Linked DNA regions of Homo sapiens: region 1 is linked to region 2. The links are contacts of gene promoters, found by promoter capture Hi-C in human tissues and cell types (Jung and others, 2019). All regions are on one chromosome and are shown on one strand. Each heading gives the region's core, a stretch centred on a gene start or on the middle of the fragment in contact. The rest is flanking DNA. Distances are from core to core; before and after follow the strand shown.

What was found. The method cuts DNA at HindIII sites, captures the fragments that hold promoters and counts their contacts. A contact is called where the count stands out against the background at its distance.
Region 1: a fragment that was not itself captured here is called in contact with the fragment with the promoter of CHRDL2 in region 2 in 2 of the 25 tissues and cell types used here (IMR-90 fibroblasts and bladder).

Annotation. Positions count from the first base shown.
Region 1 is chr11:74,648,303-74,654,796 of GRCh38, reverse strand. It overlaps a transcript of POLD3 not described here and the pseudogene RANP3. Among named protein-coding and RNA genes, the nearest start is that of POLD3, 59 kb to the right of the region's middle. The HindIII fragment of the contact is 9,872 bases long and covers 1-6,494 here.
Region 2 is chr11:74,729,506-74,735,817 of GRCh38, reverse strand. CHRDL2 (chordin like 2) reads left to right here and starts at 4,392. Exons shown (of 11, transcript NM_001278473.3): 1 at 4,392-5,011. The coding sequence starts at 4,930. The HindIII fragment of the contact is 7,141 bases long and covers 1,833-6,312 here.

The DNA.
Region 1 (6,494 bases), core at 1,866-4,365, 80 kb after region 2:
CGGGCATGCAGTTTTTCAAATTCTGCTTCAAATCAAGTGAGCTCCTTCCCACAGCAAAGCTGCAGGTTTTCGTGATTTGTCTTTCCTTGTAGCACAATTACTATGGTGACCAAGCTGGTGGGGAGCAGAGGAGAGAAGGTGGGTTGGAAGCAGCCCCAGGTTAAAACACCACAGACTCCCACTATTTTTACTTGAGGGTCAGTAGTTTTTCACGAATAAATGCTTCTCAATTTGTTGTAAGCCTTTAATCAATTTTGTTTTTGACAATTTCTTTTTAAAGAGGATTTTCTGAGCTTCTTACTCTGTCATTCCAGAAGTCCTGCTCATCATTCTATATTCCCCTAAATTACAGATTTATCTACTTGTTTTTAGTTCTGTTTTATTTAATGTTATTGTGTGCACGTTTACGAGTATTATATCTTCTTGATTAACTCTCTTATTATGTCTCTTTACATCTGGTAATACTCCTTGTTCTGAAGTCTACTTCATGTGATATTAATATAGCCACTCCAGGTTTCTTATGATTTGTGTACGCATGGTCTTTTTCTGTCCTACTACTTTTAACCTATCTGCATCTTTATGTTTAACATGCTTTCCTGTAAACAGCATGATATAGTTTGGATGTTGTCCCCTCAAAGCCTCATGTTGAAATGTGATCCCTCATCTTGGAAGTCAGGGCTGAGGGGAGGTGTTTGAGTCATCTGGGGGGATCACTCATGGTTTGGTGTTGTCCTCCCAATAGTAAGTCCTCATGAGATCTGGTTGAGCAAAAGTGTGTGGCATCTCCCCTCCCCTTCTTTCTCTTGCTCCTGCTCTGGCCATGTGACATGCCTGTTCCTGCTTTACCTTCTGCCATGAGTAAAAGCTCCCTGAGGCCTCCCCAGAAGCTAAGCTGATGCTGGCACCATGCTTGTACAGCCTGCAGAACCATGAGACAATTAAACCTCTTTCCTTGTAAATTACCCAGTCTTAGGTATTTCTTTACAGCAACGCAAGAACAGACTAGCACACAGCATATTTGTATCCATTTGTAAAAAAAAAATCTAGCCTGGTAATTTCTGCCTTTTAATTGAAGTGTTCATTCCATTTACATTTAATGTTGATATGGTTAAGTCTAATGTCTTTTTATTGCTTTCTATTTGTCCCATCTATTCTTTGTCCTTTTTTTCCTTCTTTTCTAACATTCATTGGTAATTTTAGTATTCCATTTCATCTGCATTATTGGCTTATTAACTATACTTTGGAGTTATACATTGTGGTTTTCAGTGGTTGCTCTCAGGTTTACAATACGCATATTTAACTTAAAACAGTTAAGTTGTTTAAAAAGTTATTAATTTAAAAATAATATACCACCTCAAGTATAACATAAGAAGAAGAGTATACTATACTTCCATACTCCCTCCTCATCCTTTGTGCTAGTTTTGTCAAGTATTTTATTTCTACTTATGTTATGGACCACACTATGTGTGTGTGTATCTCTCTTAGGTATTTGAAATACAACTTTATTCTGTTTCTAAATGAAAAGGAATGGGAATGGCAGTAAAATAAGATCCTCACCACTGAATATTATGATGTTAAGTATTAGGTTGGTGCAAAAGTTACTGTGGTTTTTGCAATACTTTGGCAAAAACTGCCATTACTTTTGTACCAACCTAATATATATGAAACTCCAGAAGGAAACAACAAAAACAGCTAAATATGCAGGTCCAAAAATTGAAGGTATTTTTGAAGTCCATTCATCTCCTTCAGCATCCCAAAGATAAAGCACATGTTCTGCTTAGCTACACAATAAAATGGCAAACATGCTACACCACTGACAGCACAGCACAGATGCTTATAAAACTATACTTCTGATGCTGGGCTCCAGATTAATTTTCTTACAGATCATCATTCTCATCCGGGAGAACATTTGAACAACCTGTAAATCATGATATATTGTGCTGCCAAAGCTGGGTCCATGACAACCTCTTGTGGGGCAAGGGCAAGCATGGCAACAAACTCCAAGTTAGGATCTCCAATTAGTTTTGTAGCAAGCCAGAGGAAGGGCTTTTCCAAGTTGGAGTTACTTTTAGCAGAATGTCACAATGCTGAGGATTCTTCCTTTAGTAGAATACAATAGAGTTTGCCTTCACTTTCCTATCTTTAATGTCTATGTTGTGTGCCTCTTCACAGTGAACAATGCCTTCGGGAGTTTTCTGCCTCCTTTGGGCACTATCTCTATAGCTTCATCTTCTTCCTCAATTCAAATTGCCAAAGCCTGGTTGAGTTTCCCATCTCTAAGTGAACAAAATATGTATGATTAGAAAGTAAGCTCTATTCAGTTTTGCTTAAATTAGAGTTGGTCTCTATTACTTGAAGCACTGAGAAAGTCACTGTCATATACTGATGATGATACGCAACCTTTGGGAAGACAAGTTGGCAATATGTATGAAAAGTTTCTTAAAATGTATATCCTTTGACACAGTAATTCTATTCCTAACAATCTATCCTAACAATAATCTAAAATGGGCATCAAAGATATGGTTGTAGTTACCCAAAATGCAAGCATAATGCTCTGGAGGGATTTGTTGCTAACAGACTTGCTTAAAAGTTGCTTTCGAGACATTCAATTTGCAGATGAGAGCTGTTATTACAAGGCATTTAGGTCTAAAATTTGGCCATCTAGAGTATGTGAAGGGAAAGAAAACCCTCTCAACTTTGTAATGTGATATAGTATTGAGAAAAGTAGACTAAAATTTTAGAGATCAAGTTCTACCACTGACTTGCCTAGTGGTCTTGGTAAGTTACCTATCATCCCTGGGGCCTATTTCCTCAGCTACAAAATGGAGGTACTATCTGCTCTATCTACCTCTGACAGCCATGTAAGGCTGAGTCCAGCTTTCCCCTCTGTATGTACTAGTAAAGCCTTTGTAATGACAGGAATTGTTTTCAATGACTTCCCTTTGTCTTTAGATATGACAGAATCCTTACCATAGCCGACAAGGTTCTGAACCATCTGGCCCAGCCTCCCTCTCTAGCCTGATCTTGGCATGACCTCCCTGTTGGTCACCAGGCTACAGCCACATGCCCACCCTGGACTTTCACAAATGCTCTTCCCTCTCCCTGAAATACTGTACCATCTTTGCCTGGTCAACTACTTATCTGTAAAGTCTGACTTAAATGTCACTTTCACCAAGAAATCTCTGACAACCCCCAACATGGCCCTCCTGTGTGGTTTTTCTCCTAGTGCCCTGTACAGATCCTTTTATAAGGCTTATCACAATGGTCATTACATAATTGTTCATGCAATTATTTATTTGGTTGTCTCTCTCTTTCAAAACTCCTTGAGAGCACGTTCTGTTTCTGCCTTGTTCATGACTGTGTAGTTTTAGGGCTTGGCAGTACCCTCTATGGAGACACAAGGTAATTTGTTAAATGAATGAATTCTTAAACTCTTACAGCATCAGGGATAGAGAACTAATGCTTTCAACCAAGTTGATAAAACTGAAGCCCAGAGAAGAGAATGACTTTCCCAGGATCACATGGCCAGTGAGTAGAAGAGGCAGTTTTATAATTCATTAATTCATTCAATAAATATTTTCTAAGAGCCTACTATGTTCTAGGCACTGTCCTAGGTACTGGAGATAGAATGATAGACAGTCCGTGACTTCCTAGAACTTATATTGTGGTGGAGGAGATAGCCAATAAGCAGATAAACAGATACACAATTAGCAGAGATAGTGATAAGTGCCATGAAGAGGTGCTCTGTAGACAGAAAGCACATAACCACCAAGCACTCAAACCCGTGCTTTCTGCGTCCAAGTGCAGGGCTCTTTCCACTACACCACACTGTCTGCCCGAAGTAAACAAACAAAACCATAATTTATGAGGCTCCCTCAGCTGCCTGTGTGTGCACTTGGTGGGGTGAAACCCTCATGCTGTCCATGAAGAAGAGCCAACATCATCAGAAGCGGCAGCTGACTGGCTTGCCTACTAAAGCAGGTGTCATGGCACTAGCCAGCCCAGCCTCTGCTGCCTTGAAACTTCACATCTGGCACCCAAAGAGAGAGAGTGTGTGTGTTTAAATAAGACAGCTATTGAATGAGTGGACTGAGGAGGGTTGGAGTTGGCTGGTCTTAAGGAATGATGCAAACCACAAGGGGACAGTGCTCAGGAGGTGAACAGAGAAAACAGATGGGCTCAAACTGCAGGCGTGACTATAGCCCAAGCACCCCATACATCATTGGGAGAGGCTTCTTTGCTGCCAAAGATCTGTTTATTTTTTCATTAATAAACAGCATTCTCTGATGTCTGTACTTGAGGAAATAGAATGCATACTCAGACCTTTGGCTTTCCTCTAAACGACTTCAAGTAGAAATATGGTTGAAACAAGGGTGTGTTGTGTAGCACACAGAATGACACGCAGCCCACCTGAAAGGTAGGGGTGCTGGTGGGACAAAGGGGAGTCAGGAATTTGACAGGTGAGCAGAACTGCAAGGAAACACTGGGTCCATTAGCCCTCCCTCCTCACTTTGTTAGAACCTCAGTTTTGACAGTCTGATGTGCTGTCTACAGCACAAAGTAGGCACTCCAATAAAGGTTAGTTGGCAAAAAAATTAGCAAAGTACGACAACTCATTTTTCTCACACAGGTAAGATTAAAGTCCAAAGCATTACTCTGAAACAATAAAAACCCAACCACTATAAACTGGGCACTTTATATTTGTTATCTCTAATCCTCACAATAACCTTGAGGTAGATACAAGCTTCATCTTACAGATGAGCAGACTGAGGCTCAGAGAAATTTGGTGACTTTCTGGGAGTCACGCTGATAGTAAAAGGGCATGAACTCCAGTTTGCCTGACTCTAAAGTCCAAGGACTTTCTACAACATCAAAAAGTGAGCCAGTCTGCTCTCCAACTGCAGCCAGAGTACTTTCCAAAATGTAAGTATCTCTCTCTCTCTCTCAAATAAATAAAGATGGGGTTTCACCATGTTGGCCAGGCTGGTCTCGAACTCCTGGCCTCAAGTGATCTACCTGCCTCGGTCTCCCAAAGTGCTGGGATTACAGGCATGAACCACCGCACGTGGCCAAAAAGCAACTGTCTCTTGCTGCTTTGCTGCTTCTAAAGTGTACAGGCTGGGAAGACATATAACATGTATTATGAACTATGCACAATTCTAAGATAGAGTGGGGGGTTTCATGCAGGAGCTTCAGGATAGCTGTTGCTGTATTTTAGGGGTGAGCTTTGGAGTTCACAGCAAAACTTACTGCTAGAAAAGAATTAAATCATTGGTACATTTCTAAGTATAATGGTCATTCAATGTCTAATATGAATGTCACTTATGATATGCAAGAATGTTTACAACACTCCACGCCACTGGAAAAAACTTACACTAAGAATGGATGACAATAGGATACTCTGTCTGCCTCTCAAATCCCAGCTCTACCATGTACTAGCTGGACAGCCTTTCTACCATTGAATTTCCTAATTCATCAAATTGGGCTGATACCTACACCTCACAAAGTTGTTACGGATCAAATGATATAAAGTATATGAAAGCATCTGGCATAGAATAGGTGTTAGTAAGATTTGGGATGAATTTAGTTGATCAGTCTAGGACTATGGGTCATTTTTGACCCAAAGAATTCCAGGGAGATGCAGTCAGTTCCAGGTCTGAATCAGTGTGTGTATGTGCGTCAGAGAATGGCCTACATGAATCCTTGGTGAAACCGTGGAACCAATCCCATCTCCATGGTTTAACTAGGACCATGGCTCAGGCAAGAGCCAGAGAATTTCCAAGCATGAGACGACCTAGCAAAAGGCTAATCATTCCACATTTGAAGTCACTCCTAATACTCTCCTCTCCTGAGTTTCCAAGGGGATCAAAGGAGTCATCTGCCTAAAACAAAACTAGATCTAACTTCAAATTATTTTCCTCTGCTTGTTCTAACTCAAGATACAGGTTCAATTTGGCTGTTACTTATGATCTACTTTATACCTTTAGGCTACTAAAGCTGATCTTTCTAATGTACGAATCTGACATGTTAAAATTCAGTGGCTTCCTATTGCCTATAGTGCAAGGTCTAAACTACTTAGCAAAGACCTCTGTGAGCTGGCCTCTGCCTACTTATATGGCCTCATAGCCAACCATTCTGCCTCTCACTAAACCACTTACAACTCTCTAAACAGTCTGTGCTTTCTTGTGTGTCCATGCCTTTGTATGTCCTGTTCCTTCTGCCTGGTATGCCCTTCTCGCTTTCCATCTGGCAAACTCCTATTTTTCTCAAGACCTGTTTAAGCACTTCCTCCTCTGTGAATCTTCCCTTAATCCCTCAGGCAGTCACAGGCAACCCTTTCTTGGGACCACACTGACCTATGGACACACACCTCCTTTACACAGGAGGAGGAAGGACATGGTACAGTAGTCAGAATATAGACTTCAAGTCAGAAAGACTAGAGTTCAAATGTGGCCCTCTCCCCAGGCCAGCTAGAACACCAACCAGAGGGGAGA
Region 2 (6,312 bases), core at 3,143-5,642:
AAATACTGTATAACGGTATTTCACTGTGCCTCTCTTCTCCACTGCGCTTTCAGTGATGTCACATTGGTAGCATGAATTGGCCACAGTGGGAGTATTTACACCACAGACATTGGCAACTGTAAAAAACAACACTTTTTTTCCCCTGGAGAACCAGTTGTTAAACATTTACCAGCACACCACTGGTGTAGAGTCTCTATTATGTAATCTTCTTGTGGTGAATCTTCTTTTAGAATCTTATGGACAGAATTAAGCGGACTAGGCTAAGTCTCTCCTTGACACTGATCCCTATGATCCTTATCGCTATGGTAATTTTACATAATTAAGCAACCTGTGGCGGAGGAGGTGGCCTTTTAGTCACAAATAGCATGTCACATGAGGACTGTTTGAAGGAACTAGGATATTATTCAACAAACCTTTATTTAGCAGCAAATATGTGCAAAGCTGTGTGTTGAAGGCTAGGGAAGATATTAAATAGTAGTCTATGTTCTCAAAGAACTCACTATAGAGGAGGTGACACAAAACCTATTGAAAATACAATGTAGTAAGTGCTATAACAAAGAAGTATGGAGCAGAACGGAGCTAACTCAGAGACCAGCAAAGAGGATTCAGAGCACCTAGAATACAAGTGTCGGTGTCTGTCTTGTTCTCCACTGTGTCCCTAGCACCTAGCACTATGTCTGGCCCAGAATTTGCACTCAATAATTGTTGCATGAGTGAAGGAGTTAGCAATTACCTTAACCCTTGAAAAATAAGTAAGCTTGCCAGACAAATCAAAGTGAGTACAGAGAGGGCATTCCAGGGCGAAGAAACAGTGTTTGCAGAGTCATGGAGGCCCAAGAGCTTGGCACATTTGAAGACAATGTTTAATATGGCATGAGGGGTCCCGGGACCCAGACTGGTAAAGGTGAAGGTATGGAAGAGGGGTTCTCTGCCCCAAATCTCTAGAGAGCTCTCAAAAGACAAAAGGACTTGGCTTGTTCTGTATAGCCCTGGGGACAGAGTGAGGGGCAACACAGGCAGTCACAGAGAATCAGATTTCAGTTTAATATAAAGAACTTTCTAACAGAGCTGTCCAACAGTGGAATGGGCTGCCTTGGCAGGCAATGAGCAAGTTCGCTATGAAGGAAGAAAGCAGATGCCAGATAAACTCTTAGTGCAACAAACTGCTATGGGGAGATGCATTTTTTTTTCCTGACTAGATTTTGGAAGAATTTATTCAGTCTCCTTTTTAAAAGGGTATTAAATAATATATAGACAACTCTCTTCAATAGTATTTCTACAGAAGACACAAAGACTTTCTTTCTTTCTTTTTTTCTTTTTGAGACAGTCTTGCTCTGGAGTGCAGTGGTGCAAACACGGCTCACTGCAGCCTCAACCTCCTGGGCTCAAGCGATCCTCCTGCCTCAGCCTTCAGAGTAGCTAGGACTACAGGTGCGTGCCACTATGCCCAGCTATCTTTTTTACTTTTTGTAGAGACGAAGTTGGGGGGGGGTCTCACTTTGTTGCCCAGGCTGGTCTTAAACTCCTAGGCTCAAGCCATCTTCCCACCTCAGCCTCCCAAAGTGCTGGGATTACAGGTGTGAGCCACTGGGCCCGGCCTGACACAGAAACTTTCAAGTGTTTGTTTCTTATGTCAATCATTGACTAAAGCTGAGGCCAATAGTGGGCTGAAGGCTTTTCCAATCACTGAGGTCTTCACTCATTCATGTAGCAATTATTTATTCAGTATCTGTGTGTCAAGGACTTTGCTAAATGCTCGAATTACAGATATAAATTTCAAAAGGCACCTGCACTCACAGTGCAGGGTAAAAATGCAAATAAATACTTACACTCCAACAGCTACAATTCAAAGTGCTATGGGAAACACAAAGACTAAACATTGACTTTGCCTGGGGGACTCAGGGAAGACCTTGGAGTGGAGGTGACTCAACTGACCTTTGGAAAGTTAAATGGGATTCACTAGATGGAGGAAGAGAGAGTCCAGGCAGAAGGAAAACATGTGTGAGGATATGGAGGTGCGACGACGCATGGTCAGTTTGGGGAGGTGAGCGGTTGGCCAAAGTGTAGGGTAGGTGGCAATGGTAGATTGGAACTAAAATATGCGTGGTGTTCAATTCAGTGCTGAAAATTTTAGATTTTAACCTATAAATGATAGGAAGTGAATAATAGGTTTTATGTGGGAAAGTGATGTGATCAGATTTGTCAGTAGAAATGATCAGCATAGTTCTCAAGGCAGGTGTGAGGAAAATAGATAGGAGAGATCCAGATTAGGGGGAGGAGACCTGGTAAGAGGCTGTTGGGAAAGTTCAAGTAAGGAATGAAGATGGCCGGGTGCGGTGGCTCATGCTTGTAATCCCAGCACTTTGGGAGGCTGAGGTGAGTGGATCAGCTGAGGTCAGGAGTTCAAGACCAGCTTGGCCAACATGGCGAAACCCCATCTCTACTAAAAATACAAAAATTATAGGTGGTGCATGCCTGTAATCCCAGCTACTCGGGAGGCTGAGGCAGAAGAATCGCTTGAACCCAGAGGCAGAGGTTGCAGTGAGCCCAGATCACGCCACTGCACTCCAGCCTGGGCGACAAGCGCAAAACTCCATCTCAAAAAAAAAAAAAAAAGGAATGAAGTTGGCCTCAACTCTGGGGATAATAGGGATGGACAGGAGGGCTGAGATGGTGGAGGCCTTTTTTGAAGTATGATGGGCAGGATGTAGGGGAACCCATCTTAATCCACTTCTTACATCTAAGACATGAATATATGTGCACAGCACATTTTAAACAAAGAGAAAGGAAAAGATCACTGTCCCAAACCCTTGGGATGAGATTGTTTATGCAATTAAGCAGCACAGGATTTAACTCTGAGATCCCTGGAAGCAAAGGCAAAAAGGGAAGCATGGTGACATGCATAAGCTTGCACTATCTGTTAAAATAAAGAATACTCAGGGGAAAGGAAGAGACTGGCCAGATTAGAGTAGAAATTAAGCCTGAAGGGCACTGGACAGATCATGTTTGTCCCTGATCCTGAGAGCCCTAGGAAGGGCCAGTTTGGGGATCACTGGTTCCTCCTACTGCTCTCTTTTGGAGGGTGGAGATCTTGGGGGTAATACCCTGAAAGCACAGTGCAATGGGGAGCCCAGCCTTGGCCCAGAAAGATACCTTTACAGCCAGCCAGCCAAGTGTTTAAACCCGGAAATATGATTCCCTACCAGAGTGGGATATGGCTCAACATCCCTTCCCACCTCATACTCCTCTGGCACTCTTTGGAGTCTCCATTAGCTCTTCAAGAGAAGCTGGGCAGAAAGTTGAGGTCCAAAGCAAGGATAGATGTATTTACTCAAAGTGGCCCAACAAGTTACGGATGGAGCCAGGACAGTGACTCTGCCCTTTTGATTTCAGAGCTTGTGTGTTTCTGGTCTGGCCAGAGCTGGCTATTCTCTTCTTAGTGTCCTATTAGTGCATGTGTTCATTCAACACAAGAGATGGAGCACCATTTGAGGGCTGGAGGGTGTCAGGGCCCTGTCCTCAGGGAGCTCCCCTTCTGGTGGGAAAGAAAACTCTTTGACAATCAGCTCTCCCTAAAGATGACTGAAGGTGACCATCACTCCCAGAGAAGTGCAGGCCTCACCTGCAAAGGCAAAGGAGAGATCTTGCCTTGATTCGGGAGTGGGAGCGGGGAGCAGAGGAAGACCTCCAGGGGAAGGCACAGGATCCCTATGGGCTGACTTTCCTGAGAATGGCGCATGGGCAGACGGAGTGGGGACAGGGGCCACTGGTATTGTAGGCACCTGGAATTAGGACCCCTTCTCTTTGTGGGGTGAGTGTTTCGACGTTCATTACCTTATTTCATCTTAGCAACACTCGTGGGAAGATAGTAGAGATATTTTAAGATCTTAAAATGCCCATTTTAAAGCTGGGAAAACAGACTCTCCGGTGGCGTGCTGTAGACCACAAACTGAATTAAGAACGCCAGTGTTCTGATTCCATCCATCTGCGGAGTTCCGGGCACGCACCGCCGAGCGCCTTACCCTGAGCCTTCCCGGTACCCGCAGCCCCGACAGCTCAGCCTTCCCCACCTGAAAGTTCCACCTGAGGTCTCCCTCAACTCTGCCCTCCTGCATTCTTGGCGTCGCGGGGAGTCAGGGGTTAAACCCCGTGGCCCGCGTGGCCCCTTCCCCCTCCGCAGCCCCCTCGCCTCCACTCGGCGCCGCGCCTGGAGCGTCCGTCCCGGAGACCCGCACAAGAGAGGAGGGGAAAAAGTGGGCCTGTTTCTCGGGTGGCCAATCCACCGAGCCCGCGGTGCCCCAGAGGAGGCGCCAGCGCTAGGCCAGCGCCAGGCCGGGCTGCCTGCTTCCCGCGGCAAAGTACAAATGCGCCCGAGCGCGGCGCCTGAAGCCCTTGGCGAGCACAGCCGGCCCGCGCTCAGCCTCCCTCCGCGGCCGCCGCGCCGCCGCCGCTGCTGGGACCGCCGCCCCGCCGGGCCCCAGGCCCCCGCGGCCCGACCCCGAGCCCACCGAGCAGGGGGCGCCGGCCGCCTCTAGCCCGCGCGCCCGCAACACCCGCTGGTCCCGCGCGCCTCGCCCGGCGCTGCGCGCTCGGCAGACGCCGGTCCTCTCCCTGCTTTCTCCTCCTCTCCCTCTCACCTTCCCCCTTTCTTTGATCGCCTCTCCCTTCTGCTGGACCTTCCTTCGTCTCTCCATCTCTCCCTCCTTTCCCCGCGTTCTCTTTCCACCTTTCTCTTCTTCCCACCTTAGACCTCCCTTCCTGCCCTCCTTTCCTGCCCACCGCTGCTTCCTGGCCCTTCTCCGACCCCGCTCTAGCAGCAGACCTCCTGGGGTCTGTGGGTTGATCTGTGGCCCCTGTGCCTCCGTGTCCTTTTCGTCTCCCTTCCTCCCGACTCCGCTCCCGGACCAGCGGCCTGACCCTGGGGAAAGGATGGTTCCCGAGGTGAGGGTCCTCTCCTCCTTGCTGGGACTCGCGCTGCTCTGGTTCCCCCTGGACTCCCACGCTCGAGCCCGTAAGTAGACCGGGAGGCTGGGTGGGCAGAGGAGGGATGCGGCCCCTGGAATGTGAGGGACAGCGCCAGGACCTGGACCCCAAGCTCTTCTGACAGCCGTCCAGGCAGCACCTGTGCCGGAGGGGTGGAGACTCCGTGAGGACCAGTATGGGCCGGGGGACCGGAGGAACTCGGCACAACTCAGAACTGAGAGAGGGCTGCTGCCAGGGACCTGAGGAGGGGCACCAAGGGCAGCGGGGGGAGAGGGCAGGGCACTGTGTTTTGGGTTGGGGGAGGACTTACTGTTCCTAGGAGGGAGTCGGGTATGTCTGGCTACAGGTAAGGAGTGTGATGGAGAAGAAAAGGCTTTTTGCCTTTGGAAAGAGCCATTGGACAGAAATGAGAGGTAATTAGGATAACCTTCCCATTCTTTTCTCTCTTTTGATCCTCGCAACTCTCCAGTGAGGTGGGTATTATCATTCGCACTTTACAGATGAGAAAACTTAGGCTGAGCAAGGAGGAACTTGCTAAAACTTACAGAGCGGGTAAGCCATCCAAAGCCAGAACTCTAGTTCCAGATCCCATGCTTTATTCCCTGCCTCACATTGTCTAGAAGGAACCCTGAATTTGCAGTGTGAGACTCTGGGAGGCGGCAGGGCACAGTGAGATAGACCAGCGTCTTCACCATCCCAGCCCCGCTGAATGCCAGCTGCTGGGAGGCCGTCACAGAGTGCACCTCTCTGACCCTGGGTTTCCTAATCTATAAAGCGGAAGTAAAAATCCTAGGAGAGTTGATAGGATTAAATTAGAGAAAAGAGGTAAAGCAGCTAGCACAAGACTGGTGCTTGATAGCTTCCAAAAAAAATCAGTTCCCAATTATGCTTTTCCACATAGATACAGTGTAACATCAAACAGGTTACATCATCAATCTGAGCCTCAGTTTCCTCACTGCGCCCACAATAGGCTGGTGGTCCCCCCTCCCCATGCCCAGCCAATCTCTTAGAATGCTGTGAGGATGGAAAACCAAACCACATTCTCTTAATCAGAAGAAAGGAGCTTCATTCAAGCAGTGGGTTTCTCCAGGACATACATGGCACAGCCTGGGATTAAGACCCTGCGTTCCCAACTCCTAGTCTGGTGCTCTTTCCTCTCCCCAGCTCAGCTCCTCCATCTATGCCTTTCTTTTGCACGTGACATTCTGGAGCTGGTAGTGCTGGACTTTGTTACGGTCTTGTTTCTGCTCATGAGAGCAGGCTGAGTGTCTCTGGCCTGCCAGCAGCATGAGACTCACATAAGTCTTTCCATTACATAGAACAAGTAAT